Regions from separate parts of the Homo sapiens genome. Here region 1 is linked to region 2. Evidence: promoter capture Hi-C in human tissues and cell types (Jung and others, 2019). All regions are on one chromosome and are shown on one strand. The core of a region is centred on a gene start or on the middle of the fragment in contact, and the rest is flanking DNA. Distances in the headings are between cores, read along the strand shown.

The links. Contacts are between HindIII fragments. The study calls those that stand out against the background at their distance.
Region 1: a fragment that was not itself captured here is called in contact with the fragment with the promoter of HSPB6 in region 2 in 1 of the 25 tissues and cell types used here (pancreas).

Annotation. Positions count from the first base shown.
Region 1 is chr19:35,488,816-35,492,631 of GRCh38, reverse strand. It overlaps KRTDAP (keratinocyte differentiation associated protein), which reads left to right and starts at 2,168. Exons shown (of 6, transcript NM_207392.3): 1 at 2,168-2,276; 2 at 3,792-3,816. The coding sequence starts at 2,190. The HindIII fragment of the contact is 6,388 bases long and covers 1-3,816 here.
Region 2 is chr19:35,755,413-35,759,331 of GRCh38, reverse strand. It overlaps HSPB6 (heat shock protein family B (small) member 6), which reads left to right and starts at 2,303. Exons shown (of 3, transcript NM_144617.3): 1 at 2,303-2,521; 2 at 3,438-3,560; 3 at 3,649-3,919. The coding sequence starts at 2,324. The coding sequence ends at 3,810. PROSER3 (proline and serine rich 3) reads right to left here and starts at 1,156. Exons shown (of 11, transcript NM_001367856.1): 1 at 1,106-1,156. The coding sequence starts at 1,116. RefSeq lists enhancers at 812-871, 912-1,151, 1,480-2,051. The HindIII fragment of the contact is 17,144 bases long and covers 1-3,919 here.

The DNA.
Region 1 (3,816 bases), core at 1,203-3,702, 270 kb after region 2:
AGAAGACAGCGTTGGATTGACCGATGCTCTAGATCACCCAGGCCAAAACTGGCACTGGGTCCCCTCACCCGCCTGTCAAATCGTAGCTGGTTATACAACATCAGTTCTCTTTTGTCTGATTCTTCACTCCCTGGAGTCGACCCTATGCGGATGGAATGGTGGCTAATGAGCTTTTTCAGTCACTGTTCGTTAATTAGCAAGGATTCATTACACAGAACTTGTGTCCTCCAGAAAACCTTTTGGGAGGTGCTCCACCCACCTCAGTCATTCTCTAACTCGTCCCCTCCAGGAGCACCAACTCTGTGACATCCACTACTGTGTGGCCATCTGGGCTAAGGGAGTGTTCTCTAAGCAGTGTTCCCTCAGGTAGCTCTGCAAAGGGGAAGCTGCCATTATAAAATCAGAGGAGGCTGAAGAGGATGTCTGGGACTGGGGTGTGGGGGCAGCGTGAGGATGGAGCTGAGGTGCCCAGCTTCTGGGGTTCGTAAAGGTTGTTCATGGATGCCGTCCAGCCCTCCCACCCAGGGCCACCGCCACCGTGCATTGCATCAGGTTGTGTTGATAAGGTCTTGCTTTTCCCTGACAGCGCCGGTCCATGTCCCAGCCCCTCCCTGTTACAGCAGGAGCCGGTTTGGCCACCTGAACCTCACTGTGGAGAAGGCTGCTTGACTAGGACATTGTGTCACAGTGAGGTGATCCAACTTCCAAACTGGGGGTGGGGCAAGGTGGGTTAGGGCAATGACATGGAGTGGGCACTCCAGGTTCAGGGTACCTGGATCCCATCTCCAACTGGGCACCCTAAGAGCTGTTTTTTGTTCCCTGTTCCTTGTCATCTTAGCTCAAGACAGTCATTTCTCTGAAGACCCAAGAGTAAAAGACGGGCAGTTGGAAAATGGAAAGGTTCAGCCCCATGAAAGGAAAATGTACACTGTGGCTGAAGGATGCCTGAATACTAAGTCTAACGTATCATATCTGACCAATGCTGACTCTACCTGGGTTCTGTGTGAGCCATGGTTCTAGGGGGATGTAAAGCTGATCAAGATACAGCTCCTGACCTCAAGGAACTTGATACTCTAAAAGGGAAACAAGGCGAGAACATGACTTACTTAGATACAATGCCAGAGACATACAAACGAATGAATATGGGAATTCTGTGAAAGGAAAGGTGTGGAGAGAAGGACTGGGCATTGCAGGAAAAATCTGGGAAGCTTCATCCAAGATGAGTGTTGGGTTCTGAGAACTGGAGATGAGAGAAGGCCATGTTAGGAATAAGGAACAGCATGGCCGGATGCTTTGAAGAGGGAAAAAGAAGGATATAGTTGGTAAGGGGTCTAATTTGGCCAGAATGTGAGGTATGTACAAAGCTAGTAAAGGAAGAAGTTATAAAGGTGGGTTGAGTTCAGAGCATGGACCACCTTCAATGCCAAGCTAAAGAGTTTACATAGATTTTGGTAGGGTGGAAGAAAAGGCCTGAATGAGCATGGAGCGCAGGCTCACACCTATAGTCCTTTGGGAGGTCAAGGCAGGCGGACCCCTTGAGTCCAGGAGTTTGAGGCCAGCTTGGGCAACATGGCGAGACATTTTCATCTCTACGAGAAAATTAAAAAAAAAAAAAGCTGCAACATCTCTACAAGAAAATAAAAAAGTTAGCTAGGTGAGGTGATGCGTGCCTCTAGTCCCAGCTACTAGGGAGACTGAGGTGGGAGGATTGCTTGAGCCTGGGAGGTCAAGGCTGCAGTGAGCTGTGATCACACCACTGCACTCCAGTCTGGGCAACGAGTGAGAGCCTGTCAAAAAAAAAGAAAAGAAAAGAAAAGAAAAAGCCTGAATTCTAAGAGAGGAATGAGGGATATAACGAAAAGAGACAAAGACAAAAGGAGAGGTTGCTTGGGTACCACTGCCAATCCCTTGGAGGGACAGGTCCAACCTGTCTCTGTCCCAGCCCCATCTGCATGAAGAGACCCATTGCAGTGTTACCTTCCACGTGCCTGGGGCAGAATGCGAATTGAGAAATCCGAGGCAAATGAGGAACAGTCCATGCCTCCCCCTCCCAGAGCCCCGGGGGTGGGCGACAAGATCTGGGGGTGAGTCAGTGGGGTGGGGACCCCATTTCTGTGCTCATCTGCCTCCTTGGCAATATAAAGAGCAAGCACTGAGGCCCCGCCTCAGAGCACCCCAAACTTGACGCCATGAAGATCCCGGTCCTTCCTGCCGTGGTGCTCCTCTCCCTCCTGGTGCTCCACTCTGCCCAGGGAGCCACCCTGGGTGGTCCTGAGGTGAGCACGTCACCTGCATTTTTATTCTTATACGTGTTACCCACCTACCCCTCCATCTCTCTACCTCCTGTCCATTCCTGGATAAGTGGCTCTTAGTTTTGGATTCTGATGGGGGCTGAAGAAACTGGGGCTCTGAGGAAGGGAGGAGGGAACAGAGCATCCCTGGGGAGACATTTGGGACAGAGATGCTCCTCTTTCTGGAAGGGATGGTGAAGTGTGTTGGGGAGGCTCGTGTACTGAACCTTGGGACTGAGTGGGTGGTCTGGGTTCAGACTATCTCCACCATGGGCTCTCAAGAGTGTTCACCCATTCCGTTCCAGCTGCACACATGCCTGGGGACGTGCAGGGGAAGAGGGGGAACTGGAGAACGGCAATGTGAGGCAGAGCAGCTCCAAACCCAGGCCTGCATCCACATGGGCAGCAGGTGGAGAGGGTGAAGCAAAGCAAAAAACTAGCTAGTTCTGCCTGCAGCTGACTTAACTCAAAGAGGAGTGGGGCTGGGGTGTTCTGGAGACACCCCTGCTTAGCTCCTCTTTGCTTCATTTGTGCCCCTGGGAGTGGTGCCCAGGTGACGGGTGGCTCCCTGCTGTCTCTGGAGCATAGGCCACAGTGAGAATCTTTACCATCCAGTCCTCAGCCAGAGAGGAATCCTGATGCCTATTCCGGATTTAAAAGTCTAAGACAGGGGCACAGGCTCAGCTGCTAAGGACCAAGCCAGTGGTGTCACTGAGCTGGGGGGGCTGTCAGGGCCTGAGGTGAAATGGGGCCAACTTTCCCAGTCTGAAAGGGCAGCTTTCACCCCACCTGACGCCATGGATTGGGAAGATGTGCCTAGAGTTTTACATTTTTCAGGGGAAACTAGAAATCTGGATGAATTTATGAATTCTTACTAATTCAAAATGTCTAATTCAAACCAAAAAACAAATGACCAAATTTTTATGAGATCTAAGCATCTGGATCCAGCCTGCGGGCTCCGTGTTGGGCTCTGTCATGGGGAAGACACGATGGGACACACTGAGGCCTGGGGTGGGGTCCCCATGGAGGGGGATTATGGAACCTCCAACAGTGGTGGCAATAAATCCACAAAGCAAAGCAACCTCGATCAGTGAGAGGCAGGCGGGTCACCTCAGCAGCTGGGCTCCCACCTGCTCGCAAATCTTTCCCATCCAGCTATACGGACTGAGCGTGGGTGTCTCCAGAACACCCCACCTCTTAGACTTAAGTCAACTGCAGGACAGCACTAGCTAGCTTTTCCGGAGAGGAATGCTCGGCTCCAGGCTTTCTGCCTGCTGCCCATGGTGACACTGCTTACATGTACCATTCTCCAATTCCCCCTCCTCACCCTGCACATCCGCCAACCATGTGCGCGACTGGAACGGAGACCATGGTGGGGAATGGGTTGCGTTCTTTCGGGGACTGGGCTGTGGATGAAGGCAGAGCTGGCAGACAGGGATGTGGGCAAGGGCCCTGGCATCACGTGACCCCCTGCCGCCTTTTCTCCCTCTCCTTTTCCAGGAAGAAAGCACCATTGAGAATTATG
Region 2 (3,919 bases), core at 1,054-3,553:
GCAGCCCTGGGGAGGGGGACATTAGAGGAGGGCAGAACCAGACAATTCCCATAGATTCCTGGAGGAGACGGACTGTCATTTCCATGAAGCACCGTTGCACATTCAGGATATCGACAGTGGAAGGGTGAGTCCTGGGAGCCCGCCCCTGGAGCAGTCTTAACAGGGAGCAACTCAGGAACTGACAGCCGGTGGTTCTCAACCCTGGATCCAGTCTAGGAGGGGCTTTTCAACGTTACAGGCGCGCGGTTCCCATTCCAGACCAACAGAATCAGAATATCTATTAGTGGGGCTGGGCCTCCGTGTCTTTTCCGCAGCGTCCCAGGTGATTGCGAAGTGGAGTTCAGGTTAAGAATCGCGGCTCGCCGGGCGTGGTGGCTCACGCCTGTAATCCCAGCACTTTGGGATTACACCGAGGCGGGTGGATCACTTGAGGTCAGGTGTTCGAGACCAGCCTTACTAACATGGCGAAACCCCGTCTCTACTAAAAATATAAAAAATTAGCCAGGCGCGGTGGCAGGTGCCTGTAGTCCCAGCTACCTGGGAGGCTGAGGCATGAGAATTGCTTTAACCCGGGGGCAGAGGTTGCAGTAGCCAAGATTGTGCCACTGCACTCCAGTCTGGGCCAACAGAGCGAGAGACTCTGTCTTAAAAAAAAAGAAAGAAAGAAAGAACCGCGGCTGGATTATATCACCGAGCATTTCCCATACATTCCTGGGGGACACGAAGGCAAAGGGTAGATGGACTACAAGCCCCAGGATCCACTGGGCTCCGCCTCCGCGAGAAAGTTCAAAGACAACGCCCAGGCGTGTCTGGGGGCCATTTCAAAATGAAGAAATTCAGATCTCAAGCCTTTCTTGGACACCTTTAGAGGCAATAATTCCTTGGGGCCCACTCAGAGAGGAACATAAGACTCTTAGGGGACCCCCGGGATGCTAACGGCTACGGCTGGAGAGGCCAACGGCTGTGGAGCATGTTGGGAATTGTAGTTCCAGTGCGGTGGAGCCCTAGCGACTCCAGACCGTATCCAGCCCGTCCTAGGCTGTGCTGCTCTCGCCGTTGGTCCTCCCCAGCCTCCTGTAGTCCCTGGAAGAGCGATCGGCCTCACCTGCGGTCCATCCCGCGGCTCCCTCCGCGCTTCCGGCCGCTCTGCTCCTTCACCCAACAGGCCCCGCGCGCATCTCCGTCGCTTAGCAACGCCCTATCAGCCCCGCCCCTCTCTGTGCCCGCGCCGGAGGCGAGCGGCCTCCAAGGCGACCAATGAAAGAGAGGAAACAGAAGTACCCGGAGGGAGGTGTTTCAGGATTGGCTGGGACGACTGCCTGCCCGACAGGGCGTGTTTGATTGGAGAACCTGCCGAGTGTAGCAGTAATTGGCAAGACCGTGCACCAATGGGAAGGATCTGAGGCTGGGCTTGCGGTTAGGAGGTGATCTAAAGTACCCTCGCTTAAAAGTCCCGCTTTTTAAGCGCCTTCTTGCTGCAGAAGTCCTGTCCCGACCCCGGTCTAACTACCATTCTTTCTGTTGCAGGGGCAGTGGGGCGGGTTGGGGGGGGGGCGCGCTCTGCCCTCTCTCTAACCGCTATTCCTCCATCAGTTGGGCCAATCAGTCCGTCCCAACGGTCATCTAACTTCTTTCTTGCTGCAGGAGCAGCTGGTTGCATCAGTTGCCAGGTCTGGGCTCCTGGCCGAGGTAGCGGGATCAAAATGAGCTATTTCCAGCCCCAGCGCGCGGCCCCCGGGGGGCCAGCCTGAACTGTTCATGCTCGCGCCCCCTGGCCTCTGCGCACCAGAGGCTGAGTCAGAGGCACAGAATTAGGCCCGGCCTGCCGGGGGACTGGGCCCAAGGTCTGGCTGAGGATAAGGGTAGGGAGGGCCTGTTCTATGTCCTCCTGACATCCTGGCGGGGCTACCGCATTCTCCAGGAATCTGCTCCTAAAGACCTCCATCTGCGTCATCCTCAGAGCTGCCAGGGGGGAGGCAGTGGATTAAAGGGACTGGAAACTCTTCCGTGGGCCTCTTGGGTCCTGGGCCCCAATCACCACGCTGTGCTCCCCACACCCGCAAGGCTCCCCCTCCTCAGCCTTAGTTTCCTCTTCTGGAAATTGGGGAATCTTCATGTCACCTTCTTGACAGCATTTGCCAGGCATCCAGCAGGCGCTTAATAAATGGCCAAGTCATTGTTTGGGTTTCTAAATAAGGCTCTCCTAATGGCCGGGTCTGGCCACGGTCCCAGTGTCCCTGGGCAGCCCTCCGAGGGGCCGGCACAGGGCGCACTATAAATGAGCGGCTGCGCACGCAGGGGCACTGCAACGCGGAGGAGCAGGATGGAGATCCCTGTGCCTGTGCAGCCGTCTTGGCTGCGCCGCGCCTCGGCCCCGTTGCCCGGACTTTCGGCGCCCGGACGCCTCTTTGACCAGCGCTTCGGCGAGGGGCTGCTGGAGGCCGAGCTGGCTGCGCTCTGCCCCACCACGCTCGCCCCCTACTACCTGCGCGCACCCAGCGTGGCGCTGCCCGTCGCCCAGGTGCCAGGCCTGGGGAGGGGTGAACTCGACCACTTCCATTGCCAGGGGTCTGGGGCAGCCTGGGGTGGGAACATGTGAGAGAATGTTCGTTGGCCTTGGGCGGGGTGGAGAGTCCGCAGCTCCGAAGGGCTTCCGGAGTCAATGGGAATCTGAGGCCCGCACACTGCAGCGGGTGGGAGGTCCCCGTCGCTCTTAGGTGGGGGGCGGGGTGGGGGGCTCTCAGCTCTCCAGAGAATGGAAGGCCTGGGTCACTCTAAGGGGAGTCTTGCTTACTCTGAAGGAGGCTGGTGATCCGGGAAATCTGGGGAAAAGGAGGCGGGCAGTGACTCCTGAGGGGAAGGAATGTTCTTAGTCTCGGGGAAGAGTTGAGAGACTGTGTGCGGTGGCCCGATATCTCCAGAAGAGGAGGGGAGAGGGCCCTGCGACTTGAGGAAGGGTTCCCGGCCACTCTGAAGTGGGGGAAGGCTACCAGTAGCTGCCGAGGTCCCGTGACTCGAGTGGGAGAGTAGGCAGAGGACCCTGGAGACGGGGAAAGGGGCATCTTGGCGAGTTTGGCGGGGCTGGCGGAGAAGGGACCCGGGGCTCTGAGGAGGGAGCTGGGGAATCAGTGCCCTGGGGGGCACGATGACTTCGGATTCGCTGACACCGGGGGAGGGCAGAGGTTCCTGACCTTGCAGGGGAAGGGAGCCTCATCACTGCGGGGGAGAGGGCAATCCCAGATATTACAGGGGGAGGGCGTATCCCTGTTGTTCAGGGTGAAGAGGTCCTGGGTGACTCCCAGTAGGAGAGCTGACTGCTCAACTCCGGAGGCCAGAGTGAGCCGCGGCACGGAACCGACGGGGGTGGGGTCTCCCTGGGTGGGTCCTGGAGCCTGGCCCAGCCCAATGACAGTCCCGCCCGCGCCCGCTGCGCTCAGGTGCCGACGGACCCCGGCCACTTTTCGGTGCTGCTAGACGTGAAGCACTTCTCGCCGGAGGAAATTGCTGTCAAGGTGGTGGGCGAACACGTGGAGGTGCACGCGCGCCACGAGGAGCGCCCGGTGAGCCGCGGCGTGGGGCGGGGCTGGAGCGGGTACGCTCGCCGCCGGGCCGGAGGGGCGGGGCCGCTCAAGCCTCCCTCCCCTCCAGGATGAGCACGGATTCGTCGCGCGCGAGTTCCACCGTCGCTACCGCCTGCCGCCTGGCGTGGATCCGGCTGCCGTGACGTCCGCGCTGTCCCCCGAGGGCGTCCTGTCCATCCAGGCCGCACCAGCGTCGGCCCAGGCCCCACCGCCAGCCGCAGCCAAGTAGGAGGGGGCTGGGCCGCGCCCGCACCCCGGGAGCCTCCTCAGGCTCCCTCTATTAAAGCCGATCTGACTCCGCCCAGCCAGATGTCCCGAGTGCGCCAAGGACTGTCCTC